Regions from separate parts of the Homo sapiens genome. Here regions 1 and 3 are each linked to region 2. The links are contacts of gene promoters, found by promoter capture Hi-C in human tissues and cell types (Jung and others, 2019). All regions are on one chromosome and are shown on one strand. Each heading gives the region's core, a stretch centred on a gene start or on the middle of the fragment in contact. The rest is flanking DNA. Distances are from core to core; before and after follow the strand shown.

Region 1 (3,254 bases), core at 680-3,179, 510 kb before region 2:
CTGGAGTGCAGTGGCATGATCTTGGCTCACTGCAACCTCCACCTCCCAGGCTCAAGCCATCTTCCCACCTCAGCTTCCCAAATAGCTGGGACTGCAGTCACCTGCCACCATACCCAGCTAATTTTTATATTTTTTGTAGAGATGGGGTTTTGCCATGTTGCCCAGTCTAGTCTTTAACTTGTGAGCTCAGGCAATCCACCCACCTTAGCTTCCCAAAGTGCTGGGATTACAGGCATGAGGCACCACACCCAGCCTAGTGACTGCATTTTTCTTTTTTCTAGAAGTTCTGTTTGGTCCTTTTCTGAACTTTTCCTGGTCTCTTTTTTCATTTTCCCTGTTTATTTGTTTTTATCATGGATTTTATACCTTTTATTTATTTTCTTTTTTTTTTTCTAGTTACATGATTACTTAGGATTTTATACATTTTATTACCTCTCTATATTAACTTTGGTTTTTTACATTGTTTTATTATCTCTAATTCTTATTGGACTAATTCTTTTGTTTGATGCATCTGTTAGTTTTCCCTCGTGGTGGTTGGTTTCTTCATATGGTTTGTAATTTTTTATTGTGAGCTCATCTTTGGCGAGAGTGGCTCATATGCCCTGATTGAGAATGTGTTCCTCCAGAACAACTTTATGTTGGTTTGGCTGAATCCTAGCAATTTCAGTAATCTTGGACTGGCTTTTAAGTTATTTTCTCACCTTGAAGCACATACAGTCAAGGAATGTACATTTGTAACTTATACTATGTGTGGTGCAAGCCTAGAATTTCCATTTCTCAATATGACTTTCTTTTCCATAAATGGCCCTAAGCTGATAGCAAGTTTTCATTCTGCCTCTCTGGACATCTTGCAGCATTTTTCTAAACCCTCTTTCATAGATGGGATAGCTTTTCAAGGCTCTGGACGATATGCAGGTGGCATATCCAGAATCTCCCTTTGCCCTGGCCAAGGCCACATCACTAATCTTGTGTGAGCTTTGAAGCCCCTTCCCCTCAGCCCATAGACCTATACACAGTCCTAAAATCTTAATGGGCAGTCCTACTGACAGCTGCCTTGTCACCAGCTCCTGTGATCATTCTAGCTTTGATTTTTCTCTTTCTTTCTGGCACCTGGTGTTCCCCTTTCTCTTTCAACAAGTTTTTGCTGTGCTTTCCTAGCACTTCCATATGTACGTAGCAGGAGGAGGCTGAATGCCATCTGCTCTGTCTGCCATGTTGCTGTAAATCACAGTGAGTTTTTTGTAAGTGTAACAGCTTCCATTCTGCAGTGTGTTTTGAGTCTGACTCTTAGATCCATCACTTCCTCACAGTGTTATCTTGGGCAAGCATCCTAACATTTCTGAGTTTCAGAAACAAAATAGAGATAAATGCTGACTTTTTAGGGTTGTTGGGAAAATTAAACAGATAATGCATGTAAAACTTCTTGAAACTTCTTCTGGCACATAGCAAGTCAGAGGTTCTCAATTCTGGCTAGGTTGGCTTCAGTATCCCCTGGGCAACTTTTTAACATTAGACATTTCTGGGCCAGAAGCAATGGCCCACACTTGTAGTCCCAGCTACCCAGGAGGCTGAGGTAGGAGGATCACTGGGGCCCAGGAGGTCGAAGTTTGCCATGAGCTGTGATCATGCCACTGCACTCCAGCCTGGGTGATAGAGTGAGCCCCGTCTCAAAAAATAATAAAATAAGGTAAAAAAAAAAAACAAACACAGAGATTTCTGGGTGCTACCCCTCAGCAGTTATGATTCATTAAGTCTGAGATAGATCCCAGAAATCTGCATTTTGAAAAGCTCCACAGGTGATCCCGATATGCCACCCAGTTTGAAAACGTTCTTAAAGTTATTCGAAAAATCGTAAGTAATTTCATTGTTCTCAGATTTCTAAGCACTTCAAAGTCATTTATTTCTCCCACACTGATATTTTCATCTCAGATGTGGTGAAGCTGTAGAGAAAAACAAGCGTCTCATCACGGCAGACCAGAGGGAATATCAGCAGGAACTCAAAAAGAACTATAACAAGCTAAAAGAGAACCTCAGGCCAATGATCGAGCGGAAAATTCCAGAACTGTACAAGCCAATATTCAGAGTTGAGAGTCAAAAGAGGTAAGAACAGGGCAGAGGAGGCCTCTTCCTGTGGGATAAAGAGCAGCGCATGGGGCCTAGCACCTTGGGGCATGCTCTGCTGCACTTGGGGAGCTGCAGAACCTCGAAAGGGTGGAAGAGGGTCCCACAGTCAGAGAGGCTACCAGAGTGTGATTCATTCTGCCTCTGTCCTCCCCATCCCTGCTCCTTGACCTCTCCCAGACACCTTGGTGTTGGTCTTGTGCCAGGGTATTCCCAGGGCTGAATGATGGCCTGTGTTGGTTTTTTTGTTTGTTTGGTTGGTTTGTATGTTTGTTTTGGCACAGTGTGAAGGGGTCGCAGACCTTTCACTTATTATTTGCTGAGTTGTCCATGACTGATGTCCATTTCTACTGGGTGATCCACCCCCAACCCTTTCTAAAAGGCTAACTGATCTTTTCTTGCTTCTGTACGCTCTCTTTCCCTCTCCTCCCTCTCTTTTCTTAATTTCAGGGACTCCTTCCACAGATCTAGTTTCAGGAAATGTGAAACCCAGTTGTCACAGGGCAGCTAAGAAAAGCCATCTTCATTCGTGGAGACTGTGGCCCTGCAACCCTGGAGAAGGACTTGCTGGTACTTAAAAAATGGGACATTTGCCACCCAGGACTGACTGTACACTCCCTGATCAGCCAGCACTCTGGAAGCTTTGGGATCCCAGGAACCATGGAATTATTCCCAAATGGACTCTGACCAGATTTTTGCCATACTGGGGGGTGGCGGGATGGAGGATGGGTACTCAGGCATGACTGCGTATTTATTAAAGTGTGTTTTTCCACAATGTACCAAACAAGGCATAAGCAGCTTCTCCTGCTGACTGGCCAATCACTGCCCATCTGAGAGATGATTTCCTCTGGCCCATATTTGAATTTATTGGAGTAACTCAAATTGCCTGAGGAAAAATGGAAAAATTATCCACCAGTCGATTCAAACTGAATTTCACTCTTTATAGGAAGGCAGGGCAAACTTGTAGGAGTACGAAACATTTTCAATAAATCTACAAAGGGAAGCCTTACTACAATTCCAAAAATCATCATGGTTGGAAATTTGGGAGGAGATTATTTGTGAACTTGTTACCCTTTTGGTAATGGTGGACTAATTGCTGTATAGTTATTTTTGTTTTATTATTACTGTTACAT
Region 2 (3,283 bases), core at 240-2,739:
TCTGGGCAGAGGGTTGGCTGCTAGAACGCCTGGAGGTGCTTCCCTTGAATTCATGGCAAACACCAGAGGAAAGTTTTCAGGTTGCTTGCTTACTTCCAGGGCAGTACAGAGAAAAGCGGCCTCCCCGAGGGGACAAGGGCCTCTGTGCCCATGAGGGGTCGGACATTGCAGCGGACTTGCCTACGCTCTCATCTAGCATTTGATTCCCCACCAGGAGATGGGCTTGGTGCACGCTCTCAGAAGCGCATCCACCGAAGGCTCTGGAACTGCCCCGCTTCGCATAGAGCTATTGTGCTGCCCTGCAGTGTATCCACTTGTTTTGTTTGTTTGTTTGTTTTTTGGTTTTTGCTTGTTTGCTGATGGGCAGTGGGGAGGTGCGAGGGTGGAGGGCCTTCTTTGTGCATATATAGCGATAGTCTGCACTAGGCCAAGCCCGCTACTCCTGGGAGAATGGGAACACGCAAATAATCTAAACAAAGTTTTCTGCTGTCATCTTGTGAAGGACCCTCTCCCCCAAGACATCTATGACTGGGGTCTATGGGTTAAGGAGGTGAAAAAGTGGCCCCATCCCATATCCATAACTGAATCACAGAATCCGTGGGGATTTGAACTGAGTGGCTGGCGCAAGACCTCCGTTTGCTTCCAGTAGCTGCTGGGAGCGAGGGAAGAGGATATCGGTAACTTTGGGGGCGCCAATGTGGCTTCTGTGTCTGCCCCTTGAAAGTTTATACCCGGCGCTTAACAAATCCTTTACAGGAGCACGTACGTCCCTGACCTTTCAGGATACTGTTTTATATTAAAACATGGACAGGAGGGTAGAAAAGTAAAATTCGCCTGCAAAATGGCTTGTCATCCTTGGGCCGGCAGATCTCCAAAACCATTTTCTTCTAAAGCAACAAAAGAGAAAAAAATACGTTCTAAAAGGAAATTACGAAAAGAGCCTAACTTTCCTAAACCAACATCACTTCACTCCCCTATCCTAAACTCCACCCAGGTCCGGGGTGCAACCGCAACACTCCCGTAGGTTCGAGTTCTCCCGGAGCTGAGCTTCTGCGGCCAAATGTCGGGATAAAAGCGGCCTTGGGCTCGGAAAAACGCGGCCAGATCTGGACTGGAGGGAGGAGAAGAGAGAGAAGCGGAGCGGCCACCTCACTCGCTTACAGGCACCCCCACCCTCACTCCCGCTGGTCCTCCCCTTCTCCGCCCCGCGAGCACCGCCGCGTTCTGGAGCGCCGCAGTCTCCAGCCGCGGGCTGGGGTAGCGGAGAGGGCTTGGAGGAGGGGGCCGCGAGCGCCCCCGCGAGAGTGGCCTGGCTGCAGGTGGCAAGGAAGGTGAAGTGCAGGCACCCGAGGGGCGCAAAGGAGGAGGAAGGCGTGGGGCGGGGAGTGCAAGGAGACAGGGACCCCAGGGGCGGGGGTGGCGGTGGGAAGGAGGAGGGGTTGGGGGAGGGCGGCGGAGGTGTTGGGTCCGGCCGGCTCACGAGGGAGCTGCAGAAGAGCTGGCTCAGACCTTAATCAGAGCTGTCGCCGGCTCCTTGCAGCCGCCGCAGCGCCTCCGCGAAGGAGGACGTGCCGACCCGGCTGCGCGCCCAAGGCAGAGGCCCGCGTCGGCGTTGGCTGGGCGTGAGCTGGGAGGCCGAGCTGTGAGCGCGAAGGGAGCTGGAGAGACGACTGCGGCACCTCCGGCCGCCCCGGAGCACACACGACCACCGGGGCTGCGGGACCAAGGGCCGCGTCGCCCGGAGGCCGCCCCTGAGCGGGCCTCGCAGCCCCGCCGTCCAGCGCTCCCTGGCCCTCTCCCGCAGCCAGGCTGCCAACTCATTCGGGAGCCCGGGGCATGAACGGCTACGGCTCCCCCTACCTGTACATGGGCGGCCCGGTGTCGCAGCCGCCACGGGCGCCCCTGCAGCGCACGCCCAAGTGCGCGCGCTGCCGCAACCATGGCGTCCTGTCCTGGCTCAAGGGCCACAAGCGTTACTGCCGCTTCAAGGACTGCACCTGCGAGAAGTGCATCCTCATCATCGAGCGGCAGCGGGTCATGGCTGCGCAGGTGGCGCTGCGCCGGCAGCAGGCCAACGAGAGCTTGGAGAGCCTCATCCCCGACTCGCTGCGCGCTCTGCCAGGGCCCCCGCCGCCGGGGGACGCCGTCGCCGCCCCGCAGCCGCCGCCAGCCTCTCAGCCGTCGCAGCCGCAGCCGCCGCGCCCTGCTGCCGAGTTGGCCGCGGCCGCCGCGCTGCGTTGGACTGCCGAGCCGCAGCCCGGGGCTCTGCAGGCGCAGCTCGCCAAGCCAGGTAAGAGCGTCTGAGGTGCGGGAGTTTGGCCGGGCGCGGGGGCAACTTCGGAGTGCCAGCTGCAGCTCCACTTGGGAGGACTGGAGGCAAAGTTTTGGGACGTGGGCCTGTCGGGGCTTTCCTTCCTACTCTCCGCCAGGCCGGGGCTTCCTCTCCCGGGAGAAGCCGGCTGAGTCTGGACCCAGCGCGAGTGGCACTCGCGCCCGCAGGGAAGGCGCCTCCGGGCAGCCAAACGACGGGACTGTGCGTCAGTATCGCCAGGTGCCTTCCCAGGTTGAAGGGTTCGGAACGTGTCAGATTGAGCAGGGAGACAACGGAGTTGAGACAGGACAAAATTAAAACCCACGTGCGCACACTCACTACGGTGGGGTCGGATTTTCCTGGCTGCAGGCTTTAGAGGTCCTTGCCATTTGGGGGTTGGAATGGGTAGGTAGGTGTAGGGAAGGAGCCAAGGCCAACACTCGGCTGAGTCGAGCTGGCTGTGCTTCTCGGCCGGCCCGGCCCTGCCCAGGGCCCAGGAAAATTTGAGTGAGGACAAGTATCCAACTCTCAGAACCCTGGCCTTTCTAGCTTTGCTCCGTGGCCTCCAGACTCTTGTAACTGGTGAAATAAGTTCCATTTAGCAATGATAGTAAAAGGGTCCGGAAAGGCTTGTGAGCTGATAGCGGGAAAAGAATCTGATGCGCCCAGAATTCACTCCTTTGCAGAACCTCCTAGATCCTTTAACACTGTTCCCCAGGCTGCCCTCAGCTGTCTTCGTGGTTTAAAGGAATACAAAAAATCTGATCCCCCACCACCCATCCGTTTCCATCCAGGCCTCCTGAGCTTGGCAGGCCTGAGTTGAGTCTCTTAGTCTCTCTCTTCCTGGGGAATTTCTAGCTTGCGGTTCTGCCCAGCTCAAGAGCTCTTTTGATGGCTCTTGGAATTCAGTGGATATGTGTTTGGTGTTTCTCCTTAACTGGGGCAAATGTGCAAAGGAACACAGCCCACCTT
Region 3 (2,833 bases), core at 169-2,668, 580 kb before region 2:
TTTTCTGACCACCTAATACTGTAATATATCTTCCTCTATTATCCTCCTTCTGAGCACCCTATTTATTTCTTTCCTAGTGGTTATCACAATTTCTAATTGTTTTTTCTGTCTCAGCGGTTAGATTTTCAGGATTTGGGTCTCTCTTGTGTATTATCCCATCTCTAGCCTCAGCACACTGCTTGGTACCATGCAAGGCCCAATTAATATCTGTTGGAAAACAGAATGAAATTTGTATATCTGTTTATCCTAAAACTTCTACCATTACTCGAGCAGAAAAGCAAAAGGTATAGCCATAATACCTTAATTTTAAAATAAGGGGAATAATAGTGATAACTATTTTTTTGTTTAATTATTAATGGAAGCAAAAGGATTTTCCCATAGAGGCACTAAAAATAAACATTTTCTCAATGTTGATAAACAGAGATGCATAATGAGATGATGTTGAATGAAAGAGGTCTAAAGACATAGACACCAACTATATAAAAATATATATGCAAACAGTTCAGAGGATTTGGAGTAGGTTGAGATTTAGTGATAATGTTAGCTTTATATTCATTGGGTTCTTTCCCCTGTCCCATTAAGTGAATCTTTTTTTTTTTTTTTTTTTTTTTAAAGAGAGTCTAGGCTGGGTGTGGTGGCTCACACTTGTAATCCTAGCACTTTGGGAGGCTGAGGCAGGCAGGTCACTTGAAGTCAAGAGTTCGAGACCAGCCTGGCCAACGTGACAAAACCCATCCCTACTAAAAATACAAAAATTAGCCGGGTGTGGTGGCGGGTGCCTGTAATCCCATCTACTCAGGAGGCTGAGGCAGGAGAATTGCTTGAACCTGGGAGGCAGAGGCAGCAGTGAGCTGAGATTGCGCCATTGCACTGCAGCCTGGGCAAAAAGAGCAAAACTCCATCTAAAAAAAAAAAAAAAAGAGAGAGGGACTAAAGAGATGGGAGGGGTTCCACCTAAGCTCTAGTTTTTGTATGTAAGTTGAAGCCCAAGAAAAAGGGAGAAATGCTGAACAATAGGACACAGAGAACAAAGGGCAAAGGAAACAAATGAACCATCCACTGGGGAGGAAATAGGAAGCAATGTGGAATAGAGTTCAGAAGAAGTCAGGTTCATGCCACAGAAACACACCCAGGATTCAAATCCCATGAAGTTTTGCAAAGTCCCAACCTCTGTTTTGAGAAGGGTCCCAAAGCATGGTCCCAAATCCTTGCCACAGAACCACCTGGAGGTGCTTAGTAAAAATAAAGCAGAGATTCTTTCTCAAAGCACTAAAATTAGGAGGCTGGAGGCCAGCATTGTGCATTTACCTGTCTTCTCAGGTGACTTCTAAGCCTGTTAATGATCCACTGGTCTACACCACCTCTGTTCTGTGAATCCTATACAGAGCTACAGGTCTTTTGGAATTTGTACTCAGACAACACCAGAATTTTTTTTTCATTCCAAAAGCCGAGCTAATTAAGGTGGTGGCTGCAGCTCACAAGTCTTGGGGCAAGAGCATTAACAATGAGACATGAGCTCCATGCTCTGGCAGGAAAGGGACTGGGCCATAAGACCCATTCCCCTCTTGTTTCTTGAGGCATGAGAAGTATCAAAACCGTCACCCCATGCCCTTTATATCCTGCTTCTATTTACACATCCCACCCACCATCATGTCTCTCCATAAAGAAGATTCACTCAGCCTAGCTCTGCAAAAATGAAAAAATTACCTGGGTGTGGTAACATGTGCTTGTAGTCTCAGTTACTCAGCAGGCTGAGGCAGGAGCGTCACTGGAGCCTAGGAGTTCAAGGCTGCAGTGAGCCTTGATCATGCCATTGCACTCCAGCCTGGGCAACAGATTGAGACCCTGTCTCAAAAAAAAAAAAAAAAAAAAAAAAAAAAAGAAGAAGAAGAAGAAGATTCACTTGAGTCATAATCCAGCTATGGATAATTCATACAAATAATTCATTCCCAATGCGGAATTCAGCATTGCTTATTCTGAGTGGTTCCATGTGGCATCTTAGAGCTCTCTTTCCAAAGGAAGTTTGCATTCTCTGCAGGTGTAATGATGTCTCTGTTCTTCACAGAATCCCAATAATAGTTGGCATACCAATAGTTGGCATACCAATGGGAGAAAGAATAATCACATCAAAACTACTGAGCATCTTACTATATATGTGCCAGGCAGTGTTTTAAGCATTTTAAAGCATCATCTAATGTAATCATTATGCAATCTTGAGGCAGGAGGAACTTTTATTATCCCAAATTTACAGATGGGGTTGGAGGAAGGGTGGTGGCCATAAAGAGAGTCTCCAAGTCAGCCAAATGCTTCAGCAGTACCACTTCACTGCCCCTAACTGCTTTTGGCCTTGCACATTTATTTACTAGGGCTTCGTTGGCCCAGGAGAGAAAGCATAAGCTAAAGCACATGGCCCATCTTACCTCTAGGAAGTCCCTTATGGTAAACAGATGAAGTTTTTTGGGAAGAAAGCCCCTGCTGATCTAAGCATATTGCAGGGGTTTGTCAACATGCAGATCACCCAAGACACCAGTTCTACCAGCAGCCTAAAACCTAAGTCTGTCAGGTTCTGGCAGGACAGAGTTTCCGTTGCCCAAAAGGGTTAACTGAAAAGCATTGATCAAAAGGACTCTGCTCAGCATGTATGGGAGGTTCAGGGGCCAATGAGGATTGGTGAGAGCCCCCAGGGTACAGCAGCTGGCAGAAGCCTTTCTCTATGCTAGCTCTAAAGAATCAAGAGTATAGCAGAGTAACTGGGGCCTAGAAAAATCTGGAGGCAGATGAGACAATCTTAGAAAAGGAGCCTGGGGCCTTAGAAAAATGTTGCCACTACCAG

What was found. The method cuts DNA at HindIII sites, captures the fragments that hold promoters and counts their contacts. A contact is called where the count stands out against the background at its distance.
Region 1: a fragment that was not itself captured here is called in contact with the fragment with the promoter of DMRT3 in region 2 in 3 of the 25 tissues and cell types used here (dorsolateral prefrontal cortex, hippocampus and thymus).
Region 3: a contact is called between a fragment that was not itself captured here and the fragment with the promoter of DMRT3 in region 2, in 2 of the 25 tissues and cell types used here (dorsolateral prefrontal cortex and lymphoblastoid cells).

What each region holds. Positions count from the first base shown.
Region 1 is chr9:461,588-464,841 of GRCh38, forward strand. It overlaps DOCK8 (dedicator of cytokinesis 8), which reads left to right. Exons shown (of 48, transcript NM_203447.4): 47 at 1,930-2,100; 48 at 2,572-3,254. The coding sequence ends at 2,632. DOCK8-AS2 (DOCK8 antisense RNA 2) reads right to left here. Exons shown (of 2, transcript XR_002956871.2): 2 at 3,187-3,254. Among named protein-coding and RNA genes, the nearest start is that of DOCK8-AS2, 6.9 kb to the right of the region's middle. The HindIII fragment of the contact is 8,303 bases long and covers 1-3,254 here.
Region 2 is chr9:975,166-978,448 of GRCh38, forward strand. It overlaps DMRT3 (doublesex and mab-3 related transcription factor 3), which reads left to right and starts at 1,490. Exons shown (of 2, transcript NM_021240.4): 1 at 1,490-2,290. The coding sequence starts at 1,837. RefSeq lists enhancers at 1-123, 656-1,157, 1,158-1,657. The HindIII fragment of the contact is 20,406 bases long and covers 1-3,283 here.
Region 3 is chr9:391,234-394,066 of GRCh38, forward strand. The region is part of intron 24 of DOCK8 (dedicator of cytokinesis 8); the gene reads left to right. Among named protein-coding and RNA genes, the nearest start is that of DOCK8-AS2, 77 kb to the right of the region's middle. The HindIII fragment of the contact is 7,011 bases long and covers 1-2,833 here.